Linked DNA regions of Homo sapiens: region 1 is linked to region 2. The links are contacts of gene promoters, found by promoter capture Hi-C in blood cells and fetal thymus (Javierre and others, 2016). All regions are on one chromosome and are shown on one strand. The core of a region is centred on a gene start or on the middle of the fragment in contact, and the rest is flanking DNA. Distances in the headings are between cores, read along the strand shown. Region 1 overlaps FIRRE (firre intergenic repeating RNA element). Region 2 holds the start of AIFM1 (apoptosis inducing factor mitochondria associated 1).

Region 1 (3,393 bases), core at 880-3,379, 1.6 Mb after region 2:
CACATTCAGGTTCTAATGTTTTAATTTTTAAAAATGCCGACGTTGTTTAACTATATTTATGGGTATATGGGTATTCGTTAAGGCTGTTTGCCAAATATTTCAATTACTCCTCCTAGATACTGTTAAGATAGTGGTATTTGGCTAAGGGATGGAGTCAAAACCATAGATCTGATTAAATAAATACCTAACCTACTCCTGAAATCCTGCCAGAATCCTTTATAGGAGAACATAACCAGGACATAGAGCAAAACAGCCAGATTACATAGTCCATACAGATTAGCCATTTGATACACAGAGAAGTAGAGAAAAATGAAGAGTGGATTAAAGAGGAGAAAATAGAAATATCAGGGAAAAAAATCCAACATACGCTATTATGCAATTGGTGTTTAAAGAAAAAATACATACAGATTATAGTAATACGATAGGTCATTTTGTGTTCACTTATCTGAATTCCATATTTTCTAAATATTCTGTATTGAGTCTATTACTTTTAATTTTAAATATTTCTACTTATAAATATTTATATAAATAAAAATATTTCTATTTCTTATAAATAAATAGCTATTTTCATATTTTTAAATTATACTTTTGGATAACTAAAGTACAACTGTCAAAATGCTCATACTATAACCAAGAGAAAAAGTATAAAAGAAAAAATATGCAGGACAATGCCCAATTTTTGTAAACATGTATGTGTATATACAAATTAAAATTTATCGGCCAGGCGCACTGGCTCACACCTGTACTCCCAGCACTTTGGGAGGCCAAGGCGGGCCAATCACCTGAGGTCAGGAGTTCGAGATCAGCCTGGCCAGCATGGCGAAACTCCGTCTCTACTAAAAATATAAAAATTAGCTGGTCACGGTGGCACACGCCTGTAATCCCAGCTACTTGGGAGGCTGAGGCAGGAGAATCACTTGAACCCAGGAAGCAAGAGGTTGCAGTGAGCCGAAATTGCGTCACTGCTCTCTAGCCTGGGTGGCAGAGCAAGGCTCTGTCTCAAAAATAGAAAAAAAAGGCCGGGCACGGTGGCTCATGCCTGTAATCCCAGCACTTTGGGAGGCCGAGACGGGCAGATCATCTAAGGTCGGGAGTTTGAGACCAGCCTGACCAACATGGGGAAACCCCATCTCTACTAAAAAAAAATACGAAATTAGCCGAGTGTGGTGGCACATGCCTGTAATCCCAGCTACTAGGGAGGCTGAGGCAGGAGAATCGCTTGAACCTGGGAGGCGGAGGTTGCGGTGAGCTGAGATTGTGCCATTGCACTCCAGCCTGGGCAACAAGAGCGAAACTCCATCTCAAAAAAAAAAAATTATCAATATATTTAGGTAAATAAAGCATAAAGATGTGATCAGTGTTTGTCTCAAGACTGTGGAATGATAAATAGGGTGAACATTCCTTTCAGTGTGCCTTAGGAAGTCACGGTTCACACAGTTGTCCAACTTGGACAATAAATTATACAATTATCTAAGGAGGATACACAATGTACATTCTCTACCTAACTGCCCAATTAATTATTTAAAATGTGTTGTTTCTTTATTCATTCAAAGCATCGTGTATGTGAAAATTAAAACATGAATATATGAGGCATAAAAATATAAAAGTGTAAGAAAAGGTCATACGATAAAGTTGATAATGTTTTAACATATTAGTTCAAAACCTATGGAACAGCTTAACTCTGATGTCTTTAAATGATAATAGCTAAATATGAGTATTTATTTTGAACATCAAGTTTGAGCAACTGAAATATTTATTAGTGAGTTCTCCATCTGGAAAGACATTTAAAAAGAAGGATGCCATTTTGGTTACTTTCTAAAATATGTGAGCCAGAAAATGGAGTACGCCATAAGAGCCTGGGAAATGAGCCAGGTCAAAGACCACAACGTCTGATGGAGACAGATAGCCAAGCCTCATACAAGCTTTGGAGTTCCAGCAATATCTTTTCCTCATGCACGGACTCCTTGGGACTTGAACCTTGTATCAGAAAACTTGAAAATGGGGAAAATCCTGCATATCTAATGGTGACCGATGAGGAGATCTATGAAGCTGTAGTAGAGGAAACTGAATTACTGAAAAGAAAAGATGCCTAATGAGAGTGGGTGGTTTTAGGCTTCAGTTTGATTGTATATGGAAAGCAAAAGCAAAAGCGCAGCGGTGTGAGCAAGTTTCTTCAAACTGGGCAAGACACAAGGTAGCCATATTTCCTGGTGGCTTTGCCTGTTAGTGGTGGTTTTTTTCAGATGGAATGGGAGGGAGAAGAAGGCCTGGGGGCAGGGTTAGTTGGCTTTTCTGGGCCCATACTGCCATCGCGAGGAAGTAGTTTGACAAAAGCAAAAGCTTCGGGTTTGAACTTCCCTCCTATCTAGCAGTTAAGAAAGATGTAGCAAATTCAAAGGTTCAACAGGGCCTGACCCCAAGATGGGCCTTCTCAACTTCAACTCTTAGGCTTTCCAGGAGTTCAGTCTGGACAAAGGCAAAATCTCAGTGAAGAAGCTGCTAAGTAAGGTACCAGGACTGATGCAGGGCTTTGGTTTCCTCTCACTGTGGGCAGGACTATGGAAAAACTACAGTCTACACACAGCTTCTGGGCATTGGTCTCCTGACCCTGCCCCTTAGACCATGAGACATTTGGGCTGGCACAAGATATCCCTGTACTTTGGGGTATGGGCCCCAATGTTAGCAACGTTAGAATGTGAGGAGGGGGAAATGAATCTCATTCGAGGTGGCATCTAACAGCAGCTGGAGGTCTCAGGGACACCAAAAGTCTGGTGCCTCTGTTGCCTAGAGCAAGAAGGATCTGAGGAAAAGGAGCATGTGTCACTGTGCCAAGTCAATAAATTCCAGAACATCAATAAGAGTGCAGATATACACAACCAGAAGGCCTGGAGGTATTCTCTGAGCCCAGGAGTTAACAGCTGTAGTGGCTTTGCAGCATTTTTTTCTAGGGTCCATTGTGAAGGCATACCCACGTGGAGGGATCTGCTCTCATTTCATCTCTCTTAATGGGACAGAAATGGTTTCTTTAGCTTTCTTCTAAGGAAGATGAGGCTTTTAAGGCTCAGGATCTAACTGTTCATTAAGATTAGCAAGTATTGTTCTCTGTGCCTGCTCCTTAGCCTTTTTCTGATGAAGATTCCTTGTAGGCCTGACAAGATATCCTTCAGGGAGTTGAGTACATCAGGACCCCCAGAAAACTTGCCTCTTTAGTACCACTCTTTCGTACCAGGGATGATCTCTGTACATGATCCTTTAGAGAAAATGCTGAGCAGTCCATGAAAACAAGCATGAGTATTTTGATATTCTTTCTTCTGCTCTCTTCTAAATCTATTCCATTTGAATATTTGCATGAGTACGTGTATGTGTGACACTCATGGGTTTGTTGGTATGACT
Region 2 (3,232 bases), core at 232-2,731:
ATTTTCATTGTGCATAGCAACTGGAAAAACTGTTCAAATGCACATTTGCAAAGACCCTAACAACCCAAGGAAAATATTTTCCACTTTTTATTTTTAAAGCACCCAGGTGTTTCTGTATTGTAAAAGCCTCAAGGATAACTTCTGACATTGCAAATGCCCTAGGGGTGGACATTGAAGGATTACTGATTTTTTTTTCAAAGCAACTCCTACAGGTGGATCATTCATTGCCCCCATGAAGTAACGCAGTACGAAAAGAAGCAGGCTCAAGCCATGCTCAGATAAATTCACGGATATCTGATGTACAATGGGCTAATTACTGGGAAGAGACCCGAATTCATTCTTAACTTTTTGAGGTCAACTTTAGGAAGCAGTATGGAGTTGCAGCGAAGGGATTAAGGACCTGGAGGCTAGCAAACTATCCTTAGCTCTACCTATTAATTAACTATGTGACCTTTGGCAAGTAATTTCACCTCTCTGTGCCTCAGTTTATTATCTATAAAATGAGTGGGTTGACCTTTACCACAAAATCCCTTCCAGCTCTAAAATTTGATGAAACAACTTAATGGAGAACAAAATACAATGCGTTCTGCAAACTGTTTCTTTGAAGCCTTAAAGACCACCAAGAAGTACACGGCTCAGGCATCTCCAATTAAGTCTGGGCCAATTCTCTGGGTGTCTGGTACACAACCAACCGACTCCTTACTTGCCCTGCACCGTTTCTGTTTCACTGGGCATTCAAATCCATGGATCTCATCTGTGGTTTGGAAGGCTGAGCAGATAACACCCTCATTTACACAAGAAACTTAGGCGTAGGGCTTAAACGTCCTGTTTAAAGTCTCAATCGGTAAATGACAAAGTCTACTTGACCTCATTGCTCTAAAAAGGGGGGTGGGGGGTGGGGATGCCGGGGAGGCGCCGACAGCCAGTTGTTCTGGGATCCCTGAACAGCAAACGCTCCCGGGAAAAGGCCTCAAGCCGACTACTGGGTTCAAATCTCTTGAAGGTCAGGTCGGCATGGCTGAGCCAATTCCTCCGCTTGCAAGACTCAGGGTTCGGAGTCTGCCAATTTGGAATTCACGTGACTATGTGTTAAGTTTCTCGCGGGGACGCGGGGGTAGAGGGCTGCAAGGCACAGGGAGCCTAAGGCGCCAGGCCCTCGGACTTGGAGGTTGCCTGGAATGGGTCAGTCACCTGGGAGCCGGTTCCTCTGCCTCGGGCTTCGGACGCACACGGTCCGCACCAAGGGCACCAGCTTCTGCTTCAAAGCACCCGCCGCCAGGCCTCCACACCGGAACATTTCGGCGACCGCTATTCGGGACCTCCTCCTTCCCTTTCCTCTCACGCACGACCGACGGGTCAAACACCGTGAGCCCCGGCCAGCTCCCCCAGTCTCTTCACACGCACATTACGCAGACTCCTCCTCCCAGCTCCGGGTGGGCATTGGACAGAGAAGCCGGCCTGCTAGAGCCGGGGAAGGGGAACGGCGACCGGAGGCCTACTGCGCAGGCGTAGCACTCGCTGCCGCATTGCGATTGGTCCGCACGGCGAGAGGATTTGCGCATGCACTAGCTGGCCGCAAGCTCGCAAAGACGCTGGCTCTAGGTAGCCGGTTTTCGCGAGTTTGTGGCACAGTGTTGGACTGAACGAGTTAAGGAACCTGTTCAAGGAGGGACTCGTGGGGCCGCTTTGATTGGCGGTTGTGCCTGGTGCTGCCGCTGTGTTGGTGACGAGAACTGATAACAGCATCTCACAACAGCGTAGCCCCGGCATCGCACTTTGTTTTTTGGTTTTAGGACACCAGTTACTTGATACCGAAGCCTTCCTGATTCTTTTGCAGTGATCCAGATCCAGTTTTTCCATGAGTCCGAGGCGCGGAACCTGGCTTCCCAGATCCGGCGTGTACTTCCATCTTTTACCAGTTGCCGGCTCTTTCCCACCCAACCCGTTTCCTGGACAAGTAATTCTGCGCTCTTCTTCCCGCCTGTCACCTTTATTTATTAGTTCAGTTGTGTGTCCTAGATGCTGTATACCAGGTGCTACAGATACACACAGTCTCCTGCTGTGGTTTCTGTGCTTGGGAGCAGGATGTTAGCAAAAAGCGTTCGTGCTTCTCGGACTTTCTGGGAAGAGAAGTCTGCTAAGCAGAACTTTCAGTTATGGGAGTAGGGTGAGGGGCTGAGTGTAAATAAGTGTTTTGACTCTGCCAGATATAAGCTAAATTGGAAATAATGTTTTGGCTGCATGCAGAACATACAATGTGCCTGTTTCAAAGATTCAGCTTACATATTCATTTAACAAGTATTTATTGAGCACTTACCTCTTGGATTGTACTATAAAAGGGGCTCTGTTGGGTATGAAAAGTACGGATGGTCCCCGACTTACCCCTCACAATGGTTCGACTTACAATTTTTCGACTTTATGATGGGTTTAATGAGACCTAACCCCATGTCAGTCGAGGAGCATCTGGACTTAAGCATGGTTCAACTTACGGTTTTTTGACTTTATGATGGGTTTATCAGGGTATTAAATGCAGTTTCGACTTAACGATATTTTCAGTTTACAATGGGTTTATTTGGACATAGCATCTATATAGGAAGTGGCCACTGTCTAGTTGGGGAGATGACATATACCGGTCATTGAAATAATATCTGGTGTAGTGCCGGACAGAGCAAGAGAGAAGACTATGGGATGGAATCACTATGGTAGAACTTCGTGTAAGAAGTTATTTGAGTTGTGTCTTGAAGGATGAGTAGTAAAATTCAAACAGTAGAGGAAAAGGATTGATATTTCAGATGGTGAATACTTTCGGACCAAAGATAACATTTTTCATTGTTAAACATGTTGACCTTGGATCCAGACCAACCCACATTGAATCCTGGCTCTGCCACCTGGGCAAGTCACTTAATTGTGCCTCATTTTCCTCATCTACAAATCTCAGGAGGGTGTTCGGAAGACTAAATGAGCTAATATTTGTAAAGTGTCTTAGAGGAAGCACCATGCTGTTTGTTAAATGAAAAGGCTTGGAACTGTTTTAAAAAACCAAAACCCAGCACATTTTCGGGGGACAATGATAGAGAGTACATACTAAGAAGTATTGATGTGGTCAGGCTCCGTGGCTCATGCCTGTAATCCCAGCACTTTGGGAGGCCTAGGCGGGTGAATCACTTTAGGTCAGGAGTTTAAGACCAGTCTGGCCAACATGGTGAAACCCCGTCTCTACAAAAAATCCAAA

What was found. The method cuts DNA at HindIII sites, captures the fragments that hold promoters and counts their contacts. A CHiCAGO score of 5 or more calls a contact.
Region 1: a contact is called between a fragment that was not itself captured here and the fragment with the promoter of AIFM1 in region 2, in 1 of 17 cell types (M0 macrophages). The highest score is 10.6, in M0 macrophages.

The regions. Positions count from the first base shown.
Region 1 is chrX:131,811,080-131,814,472 of GRCh38, forward strand. All of the region lies in intron 2 of FIRRE (firre intergenic repeating RNA element), which reads right to left. Among named protein-coding and RNA genes, the nearest start is that of FIRRE, 18 kb to the right of the region's middle. RefSeq lists an enhancer at 1,982-2,251. The HindIII fragment of the contact is 418 bases long and covers 1,921-2,338 here.
Region 2 is chrX:130,164,360-130,167,591 of GRCh38, forward strand. It overlaps AIFM1 (apoptosis inducing factor mitochondria associated 1), which reads right to left and starts at 1,482. Exons shown (of 16, transcript NM_004208.4): 1 at 1,192-1,482. The coding sequence starts at 1,297. It also overlaps a transcript of RAB33A not described here. RefSeq lists an enhancer at 1,131-1,470. The HindIII fragment of the contact is 8,785 bases long and covers 1-3,232 here.